Linked DNA regions of Homo sapiens: all the other regions are linked to region 6. The links are contacts of gene promoters, found by promoter capture Hi-C in human tissues and cell types (Jung and others, 2019). All regions are on one chromosome and are shown on one strand. Each heading gives the region's core, a stretch centred on a gene start or on the middle of the fragment in contact. The rest is flanking DNA. Distances are from core to core; before and after follow the strand shown. Region 1 overlaps LINC00907 (long intergenic non-protein coding RNA 907). Region 2 overlaps LINC00907 (long intergenic non-protein coding RNA 907). Region 3 overlaps LINC00907 (long intergenic non-protein coding RNA 907). Region 4 overlaps LINC00907 (long intergenic non-protein coding RNA 907). Region 5 overlaps RIT2 (Ras like without CAAX 2). Region 6 holds the start of SYT4 (synaptotagmin 4).

Region 1 (2,700 bases), core at 175-2,674, 820 kb after region 6:
ACTCATATGTCCCCTACTGCAAATGCACAGTGCTATTTCTCAACCTAATGTGTTTGTTCAGATCGTTCTCAAACAGCCACCTTGCATATCTCCTTCCTAATTCTGTTTAAATGTTCAAATCCTGCCTATACTTTAAGCTATATACTTAAGACACTAAGATCTAATACTAAACTTTACCTCAAAATCTTCACTGTTTATTATAGCCCGAAATATCTCAATTTTCTTTCAAAGTCTATGGCAATTCCTATCTGTATAATTTATTTGTTCATTAATTAAGTTCTGCTTTGTAATACCTTTTCTTTTATTAACAATTAATATTATTTACTTTCGATCCTTATTTATCTGTTTACCTGGTTGTTTTTGGTCTCTCCAACTAATTGTGAATATTTTGAGAGAAAAACCATGTTTCATGTTCCTTCCATTATCTTATCCCAGCCCAATGCTAGGGACATCATAGGTGCTCAGTCACTGCTTATGATTTAAGCTCAGCTGAACATAACTCTGTCTGACTGAATACACGGAGGAATGATTTTGATGGACTTGCCTCTAATCTGGCAGTTCCCTTCTTCAACACTCATATAAAAGGAATGAGTTATTACGGTATATGCTATACTAAAATATAAAGTCTCTTCAATTCTTGCTCCAAGCCCTTTCCCAGGAATATTTGTGAAATGTACATTAGCTCTCAACTCTATTGACTCAGAAACAGAAAATCTCAGGAGGTAACACAACACAGGCAAATTAATGATTTGTGAGTGATGAATGGAATGGCACTGAAATAGATGAGAGACCCCAAGGAAAGCTGTCTAGCCAGCATGGAATAGGAGTAACAAAGAAACAAATCCATTTTAAATAAATGTCATACCTCCTATAAAATCCTGCGAAACCAAGAACAACCAACACTGCGAACTACTTGCTGATGCCAGTCTTGCTAATGGTATAATTTTCCTAAAAAAAAAATGAAAGAAAAAAGAAAATTTTATGAACTAAAGGGTAATATGTGGAATCTTTGATTTTTGACTATGGATATAATTTAGTGTAGTCACTTATTTTAAAATGAGGAAATTGAGCCTAGACTAGGAGAATCGCTTGCAGAGATGACCCTGGTATGGATACACTGCTCCCTATATCATTGCTGCCTGAGGGAGAGAGGGGCTATTTCTAGTGCAAAGTGGCAGTTGCAGGGACTGGTTTCTATTGTCAGCCTCTTTGCTGTGACCAGAACTTTCTCATGAGCACCCTCACTTCAGGTCATGAATAACTCTTAAGAGGCCTGAATCCTCTCACTCCCAATTCCTCCTTGGCCAATGGAAGGACTAAGTTGAGGAAATCAGGAGGCCGTCTCAACCTACCACCTCATACTCCCATATACTCCCAGCACCCTTGTTCATATCCTGCCTCTTCTCTCAACTCCACATTGCTTGGTTCTTCCTCTCTCTTTTTTTTTAATTTAAAATTTGTTTTTTTGAGATGGAGTCTTGCTCTGTCACCCAGGCAGGAGTGCAGTGGCGTGATCTCGGCTCACGGCAACCTCTGCCTCCCAGTTCAAGCGATTCTCCTGCCTTAGCCTCCTGAGTAGCTGGGATTACACACGCCCACCACCACACCCAGCTAATTATTATTATTATTTTTTTGTATTTTTAGTAGAGGCAGGGTTTCACCATGTTGACCAGGCTGGTCTTGAACTCCTGACCTCAAGTGATCCTCCTGCCTCAGTCTTCCAAAGTGCTGGAATTACAGGGATGAGCTACCATACCTGGCTGGTTCTTCCTCTTTCCAGGGACCCTCATCTTCATCTCTTTTCAACCACAAGCATTTCCATGAAGGCACCTGGATCTTCTCTTCCATGGTAAACCCCTTTATCTTCAACTGCTTCCTGAATTGTTTTGCCCCTTCCAGGCCTCAACAGATATCTAGAAGTGCCTGAAGGATACAAATTGTAATAAATGCATCTCAAATGAAAATTTCTTTTTCTCCTTCATTTTCCTTGCCTCTAGGTCAAAGAAATGGTTATCATTCTCATTACTCTCTCTCTAGTGATTTTTCCAGAACATTTCTATTTAGACCTCAGTAAGAAAAATAAGAAAGAAAAAGACATCTTGCAGCTCTTTCTACCTAATCATATAATTTGAATACCTCCTCATCACTAATACCTACCATGCTTCTGGTCATTCATCCTTCTTCATTGCTTCCTTTAGCTTAAAGCACACTACCCTTTGGCCCAGCTCCATTTCTGTCTTCACCCTAGGTGCCCTCAGTACCCCTTGTGTTAAGCCACTGTACAATTGGTAAATTCCTCTCTGTGTTTTTATCACCAGTGCCTCCCCAACCCTATTTCTGCCATCCACCCACTGCCCTCACCCTAAACTTCGCTACCATCCAGTGTTATTTTACTTCTGAAACATTTCGTTTAAATTCGGCTCTCACATAACTGAATTGCCCAACAATAGGAAATGGCTAAATTATTGTCATTGCATAATACAGGATATCATGCAATTATTTATACAAACGAGGTAGATAAAAATATGCTGATATGAAAGTTTTCTAAAACATATAGTTAGATGAAAAAAGTCAATTAACAACGTATCTTAATGGACTTTTATCAGAATATTACAATCCATTTTTGTGCAAATAAATCATTTACAGCTATGTGTATGTATAAATGCATAGGAATTTTCCAAAAGGATAAATAAACTGCTA
Region 2 (2,700 bases), core at 10-2,509, 960 kb after region 6:
TTTATTGAGATTTTAAAAAACCAGCTCTTTGTTTTACTAATTTTCTCTACGTTTTTGTTTTTAGTTTTATTGATTCCTGTTCTTTTCTTTACTTTTTTTCCTTCTTCTTACTTTAGATTTATTTTGTTTTTCTTATTTTAGGTACTTGCAGTGGGTGCTTAAATTAATGATCTGAGCTTTTTTCCCTCTTCTCTAGTGTAAACATTTAGGGTCCAAAATATTTTTCTCAGTACTACTTTAGCTGTATCTTACAAATTTTGATAATTCATTTTTATTCTATTCAATATCCTTTTATTATTTACCTGGAGACTTCCTCCTTGACCCATGAACTATTGAGAAATAAATTATATATTTCCAAAGGGTTTGGAGATTTATCTGTTGTCTTTCTGTACTGATCTTTAGTTTGATTCCATTGTGATCAGAGAACACATTGTATGATGCTTCGAAATGTAGTAGGTATGTTTTATGGTCCAGCATGTGATCTACCTTGGTATATATTCTTTGAGCACTTGAAATAATAGTTATCTGCTTTTTGGAGGTGGAGTGTTATGTTGAGATTTTGTTGTTTGATGGTGCTGTTGAGTTTTTCGATATTTTTGCTGATTTCCTATCTAGTAGTTCTATCAGTTCTTGATAGAAGAGTGCTGAAATGCAACTACTAAAATTGTGGATGTGCCCATTTCCTCTTTTCATTTTTATTTCACATATTTTGAGGCTCTGTTTTTTGGGTTGTGGGCATTTAGGATTGCTATATCTTCTTAGTAAATTCTACTTTATTTTAATTAATGCTTGCATGATTTTTTTTTCCCTGTCTTTGTGCTTTCAACCTCCCTGCATTCTGTATCTGAAGTGAATTTTCTGTAGACAGCATGCAGTTGGATCATATTTGTTTAATGTGTATTTCTGTCTTTTCATTAATGCCCTTATATTATTTACACATAGTGTAATTATTGATATGTTAGAGTTTTAGTGTGCCTTTTTGTTTTGTGTTTTCTCTTTGTTCTCACTGAGCTTTTGTTTCCTTTTACTGTCTTCCTGTGGGTTACAAAATATTTTTCAAATTTTGTTTTGATGTATTAATAGTGCTTTGAGTGCGTTTTGGTAGATGACTTTTTTAGTGGTTGTGCTATGATTACATTATACATACATAACTTATCAGAGTCTATTGGTGTCATCATCATCCCTGTTAGAGTGAAGAACAGAAATCTTATTCCCTTTAGATCTCTTCTGCCTCATTTTCCATAATATTTCTTCTACATACATTTAGAAGCAGAGACATTGTTATAATTTTTGCTTTAACTATCAAACATCGTATAGCAAACTCAAGAGAAGAAAAATCTATTGTATTTAGTCCTTTGTTTAATTGTTTTTTTTCTTCTTAATTGATGTTCCAGAGACTTCTTCTTTTATCATTTGCTTTGGGTTTAAAGAACTTCCTTCAGTCATGTTTTGTAAGGTAGGTGTCCTGGTAAAAAAATCTCTTAGTAATCCTTTATCTGAGAATATTTTGATGTTTTGATTTTTCCATCTTCCTTGAAGGATATTTCTTACTGAGTATAAATTCTGGGTTGCAAGCCATTTTTTTCTCAGCACTTGAAAAATATTGTGCCTCTTTATTTCTGGCCACCACAATTTCTGATGATAAATGCAATGTTATCTACATTGTTTTTCCCCCATAGATAAGCTGTTGTTTATCACTTTTTTTAAAACCTTTTCTTTTAGTTTTTAGAAGGTTGATTATAAATTTTCCTGGTTGGATTTCACTGGGTATATTCTGTTTAATGTTCACTCAGCTTCTTCAATCTATACATTTATATCTTTTGCCAAATTTGAGTTTTCAGTCATTAGTTGTTTGAGTACTTTTTGTCTCTGTCCTCTTTTCGGGACTTTATTGACAGAAATGTTATATCTCTTGTTATTTTCCCACAGGTTTCTGAGGCTTTGTTCTTTTCATAAATTTAGTCTATTTACTCTTTGATGTTCAGATTATACAATTTTATTGTTCTATCTTCATATTTTCTCTTTCCCCCCTTCATTCTGGTGTAAAGTTTATCCACTAAGCTTTTTATTTTGGTTATCTTCCAGTTCTAATATTTTTATTTGGTTCTTTTTTATATCTTCCATTTCTTGTTGAGACTTCATATATCTTTTTGGAGGTTATTTTTTGTTTAGTGTTTGTTTGTAATTGCTGTTGAGGCATTTTTAGTATGACTTCTTTACTTTTTTCCCCTCAGATAATCCTTACAGCTCTGCCATCTCAGTGTTGACATTCATTGATTATCTTGTTTTATTTAGTGTGAGTTCCTCATGGGTCTTAGTAAGATGAGTGATTTTCAATTAAAGCCTTGACATTTTAGATATTATGTTATGAGGTTGTAGATCTTATTTAAATATTGTTTTATTCAACTGCCTTGTCCTGACAACACTTTGTCAGGGGAAGGGAACAAGGTAGCAGCTCCTTACTCTCATCACTGCCAGGTAGGGGCAGAAGTTCAGGTTTCCACTCAACCTCTGTTGACACCTAAATGGGGAGAAGCTCCTCGATACCACTGGGTGGAAGTGATAATTCTAGCTCTCTGTTACACCTTTACAGATACCTTTTTGGCTGGGAGGAGTGGAAGTGCTTCATTTGTAGTTTCCATTCTGCCTTCACTAAAACCAGAGGGCAGAAGGGAAGGTAGCCCCATTATTAATGGGGCA
Region 3 (2,700 bases), core at 57-2,556, 770 kb after region 6:
GATCTACACCGCTCAGGGAAAAATCAGCCATTATAAATTTAACTGCAAGGGGACACAAATAATGAATTTAGCAGGCAAAGATTTTAAGCAATTATCATAAATTTAGTAAAAGAATTAAAGAAAACTATATTGAGTGAATTAAAGGAAAGATGTGATAACAACAACTTAAGTAACAGGAAGTTTCAATAAAGAAATAGAAGCATACAAAACCAAATGTACATTCTAAAGTCAAAATAAAATATAACCAAAAGCAAAATAACTAGGCAGTAGGTAAAGTAAAAAATAACTGCTTAATTTTAAGACAAAATAAAATGCAAGCTTGAATATGTGCAGAGAACAAACATCCTTGAAGAAAAACACAGAAGATTTTTTTTATTTTATTTATTTTTTTTATTATACTTTAAGTTTTAGGGTACATGTGCACATTGTGCAGGTTAGTTACATATGTATACATAGTGGGTGCAGCGCACCAGCATGGCACATGTAAACACAGAAGATTTTGCAGCAGCAAATAGAAATTGCAGAAATTAAAAAATACATTATTTGAAACTTAAAACATTAGTGTGCAAAACAGAAGAGAAAATTATCAAAGTGGAGCGGGGATCTGAGAAATTATCAGGAATAAAGTAAAAGGAGGCAGAATGATGGAAAATATAAAAGGACTCTAAGATACACAGAGGCTAAAGAGAAAAATATCTATGTTTATTCCAGAGAAGAAAAGAAAAAGTGGCAGAGACAATATTTTAATAAAAATGGCTGAGAATTCTCCAGAATCGAAGAAAGACATCTATATGTGTGTGTATGTGTACCTATATGTGTTTGTGTGTGTGTGTATCTATATATATCTTTAACAAATCTAATGAATACTAAACAATATAAACATAATAGAATAAAAACACAAAACTCCAATGATAAAGAGAAAAAACAGCTAGGGAGAAAGAGAGAAAGAGAAATTATCTTCCAGGAAATAACACATTGACAGCTGACATCTCATTGGCAAAACTAAAAGTTAAACACAGTGGAATAATATCTTCAATATGCCCAGAGAAAAAAGGAATGTCAACCAAAAGTTCTATGCCGAGTAAAAATATCTTATCATAGCAATATGAAGATATTTTCTGAAACATGTAAGCTGAATTTACATCAACAGATCCTGACTAAAGATAAATAAATAAATAGTAAATAGTATATAATGAGCAAAGTGATAACAGATGGACAATCAAATCTGAGATGAAAAAAATGATGGACACTAATGTGATAAATTTGTTAGTGAATTTAAACAAACATTAACTGCTTAACATAGTCATGTTTGATGATATTGGCTTATAAAATGCACAAAGTCTCATGCCTGTAATCCCAGCACTTTGGGGGGCTGAGTCGGCCAGATCACCTGAGGTCAGGAGTTTGAGACCAGCCTGGCCAAAATGGTGAAACCCCGTATCCGCTAAAAATACAAAAATTAGCTGGGTGTGCTGGTGCATGCCTGTAATCCTAGCTACTTGGGAGGCTGAGGTAGAAGAACTGCTTGAATCCAGGAGGTGGAGGTTGCAGTGAGCTGAGATTATGCCACTGCACTTCAGCCTGGGAGACAGAGTGAGATTCCATCTCAGAAAAAGAAAAAAAAAGTACAAAATCACTAGAGGATAAGTCAGGAGATGGCTAAAAGTAGTTTATATGTTTTTAAGTCCTCTATTATTTAGAAGGATGCTAATGATACTGAACAATTTTAGACTTTTCCTAAGTAAAGTATGTTTCAATTTCTAGGGTAACTACTAAATAAATCAATACAATACTTCCCAGCTGCTAGCAGCAAACATGAAAGGAAAAAATTAATCTCAACAATTCCAAAAAGCAGAAAGGAAGGAAAACGTGGCACAAAATATTTTGGCAATGGGAAGCTTGAAATAAGATGCTTGATCCAAATTCCAATATATCAAATATTATATTCCAATTAAAGTAATAAACAGTTAATTCAAAAAAATCAACCAAACTGAAAAGAATCCAACCACCTATGATTTGTAATAAGTTTAAAACTTAACGAAATAGGCCAGGCGCAGTGGCTGGGTAAACAGATAGGAATGTTTTTCCTATCACTATATACTTTTAAGCAAAAGCATTACTAGATATAGGTAGTTCATAATATTAATAACAATAAGTTAAATTCACCCATAAGTACAATAATTTTTTTATTATTATACTTTAAGTTCTGGGGTACATGTGCACAACGTGCAGGTTTGTTACATAGGTATACATGTGCCATGGTGGTTTGCTGCACCCATCAACCCGTCATCTACATTAGGTATTTCTCCCAGTGCTATCCCTCCCCTAGCCCCCCACCTGCTGACAGGCACCATTGTGTGATGTTCCCTTCCCTGTGTCCATGTGTTCTCATTATTCAACTCCCACCTATGAGTGAGAACATGAGGTGTTTGGTTTCCTGTTCTTGTGTTAGTTTGCTGAGAATGATGGCTTCCAGCTTCATCCATGCCCCTACAAAGGACATGAACTCATCCTTTTTATGGCTGCATAGTACTCCATGGTGTATAAGTGCCACATTTGCTTTATACAGTCTATCACTGTTCAGAATTTGGGTTGGTTCCAAGTCTTTGCTATTGTGAACAGTGCCGCATAAACATATGTGTGCATGTGTCTTTACAGTAGAATGATTTATAATCCCTGGGGTATATACCCAGTAATGGG
Region 4 (2,700 bases), core at 39-2,538, 660 kb after region 6:
ATATTCAGACCTTTAAATTCTAAATTAGAAACAAATTCTTCAATGCCTTCTAGGGCCTTGAAGTATTTTCTATTAGCATTCTTGATGGTGCTAGCCCTCTAATCTTCATGGAAATGCTGTAGCGACTGTTGAAAGCTGGCACCCAAGGGTGGTGTTTAAACTGGTGATCAGTATGGCTTCTTTCCACATCATGAATATATGACCCCATGACTTCTCATTCCCCATTAATTGGCCCATCCATTCAGCAAAAGCATAGAAGGCAACACATAACCCTAAAGTGAGCAGGACATGGATGCATATGTATACACTGACAAGGGGAAAATACATAGGTAGCAGACATTATTTAGTTCTCACCCCTACTATTGTTGTGCTTACCTCTGGCCAGACTTGTAGTCTCCCACCATTAAAGGAGAGAAAAATTTTGTTATGTTCATAGCCCATGCAGAGGAAAATACTTTTATGTACCTTAAAGTTTAAACCAGTGAGCTGGGATTGTAGAAGCAGGTGTTGGAGAAGTTAGCTCGGAACAGAAGTGATCCTCCCCACAATGGAGAAGAGTAGATGGAGGTTGTTTGAAAAAGGTAAGAGCTTGAGTGACATAGGGTTTTGTGAGTGATAGACTCTGCACCCCTTATCCAAGGCCAGAACTCTGATGGGCACGTCCAAGTAGCTAAAGCTGTCGGTCAGTAAAACAAAATTTTGCCTTAGAGCAAAACCAGACTGGTAATTATGTGACTTTTTACCTGAACTCATGCTGTCATCACTGGCTAGTTCTCCCTCAAATCTCCCCTGTACCTATACCACCCTTCAAAGCCTGACTCAAGCCTCACATTTTCTCTGAGCATTCCTGATGGTGCTGGACCTCTAATCTTGATGGAAATACTATAGCGAGTGTGGAAGGCTGGGGCGTGAGGGTGGTACATAAACTGGTGGTCAGTATAGCTTCTTTCCACATCATGAATATACAATCTCATGACTTCTAATTTCCCATTCACTGGCCCATCCATTCAACAAAAGCATTAAGCATTTTATGTATATTAAGTTCTATGTTACATGCTAGGAACGTAAAAACTTTTAAGTTACAACGAACTCAAAAGAGAGGTGCTTAATTGTATTTGGAATTTCTTTTAATGGTGGGAGGCTAATTACATAAAATAATTAAGATTTGAAGCTCCAAAAAGGACCTGGGATAACTCAGTTGGTTAATTCACTAGGGAAGCAAAGTACCATTTTAGACACAGAGAGCACTGAAAACAAAAGCAAGGAGACAGGAGACAGGTTGGCACAATAGTGTCAGATGCAAGTAGCAAGGATGGCTGGAGAGAAGGAAGCATTGTGAAGGGTCAGAGTGGAAGTATGAGAAATATGATTAGAGAGAGATATGGAGGACCAGAGAGTTCCCTTTAATCAGTGTTGGACATCAGACCTTGTCCTGCAGGCAGGGAGGTGTCTGATGGTCTTGAAGTATTTTAATAATGAGAACATGAGCAATAGGGCTGGTTGGTTTCATAAAATGTACTACTATTTTATGTTACATGTGTGGAATCTGCAGTTCAGAATTATGGCAATTGGCCAACAGTAACACACTTCCTAAGTAGAAATGGCACTCTAACCCAACATTTAAGCCCTTGGTAATCCAGACTCCAAACTCAGTGCTTTCTCTTCTGAAAGATAAAACCTTTACAAAACTATACCCTTGGCATCCTGCTTTCCATATCCACAAGTGCTCACAGATGTCTCTAAAAACCGTAACAATCAAAAGGGAAACAAAATCCATATGCAGTTTTTTAAATGGCATTTAGTTTGGATGACATGGAGGCAATTATGTCTAATTTTCCACCTCCATCCGGCTCATCATATGTGCCGAGCCAGGAGCCTCTTATTTTGGCCCACCTTCATTTTATGTTTCTAAGCCCTTTCAGGGGACAGCATCTGTGCCCACAAGCCCCAGCCAAGGCCTGTGCTGGAAGCTCCACAATGCAACAGCAAAGGTCACACATGAGCTATAGGAGCCAGGAAGAAGGCTGTGGTTGGAGATTTTCCATTTGAGCCAATCCAACTGCTTTAGGTCAAACAATAAAAAATGTAATCCCCAAAAACAGGACAATAAAGGAGTAAATGATCTTCTTATTAGCTTCCATAGGAGTCAGGAGGAAGTCTGTGATTAGAGATTTCCTACCTAATTGAGTGAATCCTGCTGCTTTAGTTAAAACAATAAAATATAAAATCCTTCAAAGCAAGGCAGTAAAGAAACAAATGATCTTCTCATATATGACTAAATATTTGATGTTTTTTAAATTGCTTTTTGGTTTATTTGTTTTCCCACATCATGTTGTAGTGACAAAAAGGGCTGAAACATTTTCACTGACATGCAGATCACCCAATGCTATCCTTGACCCACCAGAAAGAAAGATATTTCCCATTTTCCCCTTTTCTCCATACTCCAGTCTATTTCCATGTCATTCTCAAAGTAACACACACTATGATGTCACCTGCCCTCTTGAAGTCAACAATTCATACTGTTATATTAGTTCCTTCTTGGCTAGTCTTATGTTTCCTACTTATGACCTGGCTATTTAAGAGAAAAGAAGTGAATGAACTCAGTGTTCCCAGAGTTCATCTCCAGCCTTCAGATTATTCTACCTTTAACATCCAGTCACTATCATTGCCCGCCACTGTATGTCCAGTTACCGCAGGATA
Region 5 (2,700 bases), core at 122-2,621, 520 kb after region 6:
ATTTTCTTCATGTAAGAAACATTGACAGAAATGGTCATTTTATGGAGGAATGTGCAGTAAGTGCGTGCCTACAGAAACTAGACAGTCATTAACAGAGATGTGGAAGAGACATAATGATTTAATGTCCTGAAAGATGACCCTTAAGCTTATTGCAATCCTGAATTCTTTTGCTTTTAGGATTGTATCACTCAGGGTTCCCCAGAGAAACAGAACCAATAGGATATACAGAGATATAGTGAAAGAGATTTATTATGAAGGACTGAGTCATGCTACTACGAAGGCTGACAAGTCCCACATCTGCAATCTGCAAGCTGGAGGCTCAGGAAAGCCATTTGTATAGCTCCAGTCCAAGCCTGAGGGCTTGGGAACTGTAGGAGTTGATGATTTAAGTCCTGGTCAGAATCAAGGACAGAATCAATGGGCACATAATTGTGAAAAGCCTGAGTAAAGAGTCAAACATCAGAATATTCAGACAGAATATTCAGAAAGGGTAATCAGGCCAGGTATGGTGGCTCATGCCTGTAATCCCAGCACTTTGGGCAGGCAGATCACTTGTGGTCAGGAGATTGAGACCAGCCTAGCCAACATGGTGAAACCCTGTCTCTACTAAAAATACAAAAAAAAAAAAAAAATTAGCCGGGTGCAGTGGCACATGCTTGTAATCCCAGCCACTTGAGAGGCTGAGGCAGGAGAATTGCCTGAACCCGGGAGGCAGAGGTAGCAGTGAGCCAAGATTGCACCATTTTACTCCAGCCTGGGTGATGAGAGAAAAACTCCTTCTCAAAATAAAAATAAAAATAAAACAAGGGTTATCAAAAAAAAAAAGGATTAGAATGTCAAGAAAGGAGGAAAGCATCAATTCAAAGGAGAGGAATTGAAGTAAGGGACTAGGCAAGTTGTCAAATATTGCAGTTGGTAAAAATTGCTGGAAACATCTATTGGATTTGACAGTAAGAATGGTACTTTTGCAAAACCATGTTAGAAGAATGAGGTGAAATGGAATACAGATTGTGAATATTAATGTGCAAATTAGAAGTGATTAAGACAAACTAGCACATAAACCTATAATGTATTTTATTTTGAAATTGTACGTCTTTTTTTTTCTAATCCTTTCCTTCCCCAGCCCTATCTTCTCTCTGTTTAACCTTATAAAAAGGGCAGATATAAGAGCGTAAATGAACTGGGCACTAAAAATAGTTGAGACTTGAATATTTTTCTGAAACCAAAGGGGCTGTTATAGAAGAAGACTAAAAATATAGGAAAAAGGTGGGACAACTAATACTGCAGGATTGAAATAGATTAAAAAAAAAAAAGGTTATTCAGCCCAGATAGAGGTATCAAACTTGACAAGAATCAGTAACCTCTCTTTGCCTGAGAGGAGAAAGAGTAAGATAAGATGTCTAATAATACAGATGAGTTTCTAGGTGCTAGTCCAGGATGTTGAAATCATTCTTTTGGGATGCTTTTATTTCCTCACTGAGGTGAAATAGGAGGGTGAGAGCATCTGCTTAAAATAAGGATGGGGTCAGAGATCTGAGACAAGAAATGAAGGATTTGAAGAACTAAACGAGAAATAGGACAGGGAACTGGCTGATAATAAGCAGAACAATTGACAAGAGCAGTGATGACTCTGCTAAGATTGAAATATAAATGTATAGTGGTACCAATAAGCACAGGCACGTACATTTTCAAAAAATGCCTGTCTCCGTGTGTGTAAGGCCAGAAAACGTAGAATATTGGTTCAGTTTTGTTTTCTGTAGATACTAGGGTTAGAACTTTTGTAAAATTTATTTTGTTCTAGTTCATCCTTCTTTTCATGGCAAGCCTTACCCAAATATAATCCAAAAAGATATATAGGTTGATTGTGAGCTTGAAGGAGCCCAAGATACCTCTGGGGAACCTTGAGCTTTCCTATAGGCTTCATCAAAGTCATCTGCTACTCTGGTCCCTAGATTCCATTCAAGAAGGCATGATGACCCGGTCTTCTTATTTTTCTGTCCAGAGATTCTGCAGGGCCATGTTCTAACCTGACAACATATGTAATCAAGCATTTTGACACTTTGCATGAATTGCACAGATATGTTAATGAAAATAAGTTAAAACCTTAAGTAATTCAAATGAGATTTCAGCTTCTAATTCTCTAGTTAATTCATGGAGGGTTTCTTCTGTAGTAATTGGTTGGTTACTCTTTGGTCAACTTCCTATCCATTTATTCAGTCTCCATTCAGTGAAGAGATAGGAAAGGTGTTTATTGAACATGGTTCACTTGCAAAGCATTGAGGTGTTGCTGACAATATAATGTCCTTTGTCTTCTTGATCTTATATTCTGCAGGAGATCCAGACATTGTAGAGTTATATAATTTATTATTTAATTATAATTGTTTTATGTGTTACAAGTATAATACATAAGTTTTTTTTCTATTTTTACCTAATATAAATTTGTTAACAGAATAGATTAAATAATAAAATTTTTTGGTCTTCAAAGAGTACATTTTTAGGCCATGTTAAAATGGAAAATTTAGCTATTCACAATAACCAATCCCCTGAAGGTTCAGAAGGACCATTGATTTAATATACATCAAACACACATATTTATTTATTAGTGCAAATATGTGAAGATATCCTTAGGCATGCACATACATGTATGTATATTTACACGTTCAAGGTCCTGCATTTATATATATTGCACGTACTGCCCAA
Region 6 (2,700 bases), core at 151-2,650:
CCTACAGGGTGCATGCATGCATAATTAAGGAAATAGGTAATCTGAATAAAGTGAAATGATAAAGACACAACCACAGACTCTGCCAGCAGAAAAATTAAATACAGCAAATTAGTTTGTGTGTTTTCAAAGCATGAAGATATAAAGTTTAAAAAAATCTGTTAGAGGAACACTCCAATGCCAAGTATGTGGGAGCAAATAGAATAGCAAAGAAAAAAGACTGGTTTATAAAATTTTCCATGATGCAAAGAACTGAAGCCAATTTCTCCCCAGACAGAGCCCTGATGCTCTGGGCTGCTGCTAGCCAATGTGCAGGGACCTGTCACTTGCACAGTAGCTTTCTGAGACTCACCCTGTATCCCTTCTCCCACATCCCAGCACACACTGAATGCCATTTCCTTATTAACTCCAGAGCAAAGAAATTCTTTGCAGAGCAATAATTGACAGTTGGAGTTACAGCTTGACTTCTTTCCTTTGAAAAATTGCTAAGCATTTGTTTTAGAAAGGCACACTCTTCAGATTCCAATGAATCAGAATCCGACACCATATTTTTCACAGTTTTTCACCTCCGAGAATATCATCAGTTTAGAAAAAGGAATGCTTTCCTTTGAAATAACCAATGTTACCAATGTTACTTTAGATGTTGGCCTGATTTTGGAAACTATTTTGTACAAACGTACTAGAAGTCAGGCCTTTTAACCATAAATGTCATTTCAGAAGCGCCTTATTATTTGCAAAAGTCATAACTGAGAGTGACTCTGAATATCCAAGGAATTATCCCCATCTGTTCCTAAGTGCTTTAACTGGTCAAATGTCAGATATTAAAGGGAAGAGAGCTGAGAGACCAGGAAAGATCAACTGTTCCAGCAAAATATTTAGACTAATAATTTATTAGAACATAAAGGATTATACTGGGAAAACTATCTTATATCAAATGCATCAATTTGTAGTGAATCTTTTCTAAATGTAATAAGTATCATAGGTATAACATGTCAAAGAAAAAAATTAAAAAGCAAGAAAACATGTTTTTGCATGTTAAAAAGAGTAATTTGAAGCAGAAACTTCTCCTCTGTAAGTTACGTTATTCTGAAAACTCAGAAACATATTTTTATTCATCTAGGTGATCAGGAGATTTTATATTAGGAACTGACAGGGATCAGTTTCGGGGCTTATCTCGGTGAGCCTCTGAGCCCCCACAAAACAGCAAAGCTAATCTCTAGTGGTCCAACAGTTAAAATAATTGATGAGCATGTGTTGAATCCTCAAGAGAGGAGGGAGGAAGCAAGAAGGAAAGCTTGAAGGGAGGAGGGGAGGGGGGCAGGTGCTGATTTCAGCCCTGTAGCGTCAGGATTGCGTCAATTCGGGTTCCAGCCACGTCTGGAGTCTCGGAGACGAGCTTCTCAGAAGAGCCAAAACAGGAACCGAGGTGGCAAATCACTGTGCGAGGGCGAGTGGACCTCCCTCTTTGCCTCCTCCCTGTTCCAGGAGCTGGTGCCCTGGGCTCTGCGCTGTTGTTTTCAGCGCTCCGAAAGCCGGCGCTTGAGATCCAGGCAAGTGAATCCAGCCAGGCAGTTTTCCCTTCAGCACCTCGGACAGAACACGCAGTAAAAAATGGCTCCGATCACCACCAGCCGGGAAGAATTTGGTAAGCAAGTTACTGAACTTATGACTGCGGTTATTCCTTGAATACTCTGGGGTGGACTGTTTATTCATTTATTTTTTGCCCGGTTGTTGAATACAGATTTCCTAGGTAGTTAATTTAAAAGGAAAATGAGAATGGCAGTCAGGCAATTGTGGCTTATTTCTGCAGCTTCTCTCCCTTCCTTGGTATCTCTCTCCCTGAAACTGTCTTCTGTTAGGGAGAATTTACCTTCAGGAAGTTCTTAAATTTTCAGGTACTTCTGTAAATTGCAGCATGTACTGAGTAAAGAAAAAGGGGTCTGTTTTTCCCATGTTGGTTTCATCTATTTTGTAGGTGATTCTTATTTGTAGGTAAATCTATATTTTATTAGGAGAAGATAAATATATCTCTGGTTACATTGGGGTTTGATCTTGGTTAAAAAAAGCAACTTGTCTATTGGGGTTTGGCAATGTATATTTTATTACAGGGCGTACCATATGGGTGTTTTTCTCTGCTATGTTTTTCTTGTATCCTTGAAATATGTTGCTAGTGAAAGACAGAATCATATGGTAGCAGGGTTAAAGAGAGTTTCAAAATGAACTGGCTCAGCCCATTTCATTTCACTGCTGAGCTAACCAAAGCCCAGAGAGATGAGGGAAGTATTATAGGTTGCACAATTAGCTAAAAGCTGCTGGAAACTTGAATTAGGGCTCCAATTTTCCCGTTCAGTTTTCCTTTTCTCACACCAAGTTTTTGGTTTCAGTACATAAAATTAGACGTACTTCATAGAGTAAAAAAGTACTATTTTTAGATCTCAGTATATTCCAAAGGAAAAAGGTCAGAATTTTACTTACACGTATTTTTTAAATCATGAAATTTCATAGAAGGTTGTGAAGAGGAGTGATATCTACAGATGTGTGATAATTGTTATTAAGCTGAGTAAAATAACTATGATCTTGACTTTCAAGATTGTAAGACCTTATCAGTAGAGAATACATAGGGAGTAGATAAGTGTTTCCACGTTATAGAAAATGTTTGCCATTTGACATAACTATTCAATAGGGACAATTTGTGATATTATG

The links. The method cuts DNA at HindIII sites, captures the fragments that hold promoters and counts their contacts. A contact is called where the count stands out against the background at its distance.
Region 1: a fragment that was not itself captured here is called in contact with the fragment with the promoter of SYT4 in region 6 in 1 of the 25 tissues and cell types used here (dorsolateral prefrontal cortex).
Region 2: a contact is called between a fragment that was not itself captured here and the fragment with the promoter of SYT4 in region 6, in 1 of the 25 tissues and cell types used here (dorsolateral prefrontal cortex).
Region 3: a fragment that was not itself captured here is called in contact with the fragment with the promoter of SYT4 in region 6 in 4 of the 25 tissues and cell types used here (H1 embryonic stem cells, bladder, dorsolateral prefrontal cortex and 1 more).
Region 4: a contact is called between a fragment that was not itself captured here and the fragment with the promoter of SYT4 in region 6, in 2 of the 25 tissues and cell types used here (H1 embryonic stem cells and dorsolateral prefrontal cortex).
Region 5: a fragment that was not itself captured here is called in contact with the fragment with the promoter of SYT4 in region 6 in 3 of the 25 tissues and cell types used here (H1 embryonic stem cells, dorsolateral prefrontal cortex and hippocampus).

The regions. Positions count from the first base shown.
Region 1 is chr18:42,453,155-42,455,854 of GRCh38, reverse strand. LINC00907 (long intergenic non-protein coding RNA 907) reads right to left here. Exons shown (of 10, transcript NR_046174.2): 5 at 1,757-1,923; 6 at 866-948. Among named protein-coding and RNA genes, the nearest start is that of LINC00907, 270 kb to the right of the region's middle. The HindIII fragment of the contact is 7,748 bases long and covers 1-2,700 here.
Region 2 is chr18:42,316,029-42,318,728 of GRCh38, reverse strand. All of the region lies in intron 3 of LINC00907 (long intergenic non-protein coding RNA 907), which reads right to left. Among named protein-coding and RNA genes, the nearest start is that of LINC00907, 130 kb to the right of the region's middle. The HindIII fragment of the contact is 3,073 bases long and covers 1-2,700 here.
Region 3 is chr18:42,501,158-42,503,857 of GRCh38, reverse strand. The region is part of intron 6 of LINC00907 (long intergenic non-protein coding RNA 907); the gene reads right to left. Among named protein-coding and RNA genes, the nearest start is that of LINC00907, 320 kb to the right of the region's middle. The HindIII fragment of the contact is 5,394 bases long and covers 1-2,700 here.
Region 4 is chr18:42,616,499-42,619,198 of GRCh38, reverse strand. The region is part of intron 7 of LINC00907 (long intergenic non-protein coding RNA 907); the gene reads right to left. Among named protein-coding and RNA genes, the nearest start is that of LINC00907, 430 kb to the right of the region's middle. The HindIII fragment of the contact is 8,203 bases long and covers 1-2,700 here.
Region 5 is chr18:42,756,613-42,759,312 of GRCh38, reverse strand. The region is part of intron 4 of RIT2 (Ras like without CAAX 2); the gene reads left to right. Among named protein-coding and RNA genes, the nearest start is that of RIT2, 360 kb to the left of the region's middle. The HindIII fragment of the contact is 6,796 bases long and covers 1-2,700 here.
Region 6 is chr18:43,276,190-43,278,889 of GRCh38, reverse strand. It overlaps SYT4 (synaptotagmin 4), which reads left to right and starts at 1,400. Exons shown (of 4, transcript NM_020783.4): 1 at 1,400-1,642. The coding sequence starts at 1,609. The HindIII fragment of the contact is 4,332 bases long and covers 1-2,700 here.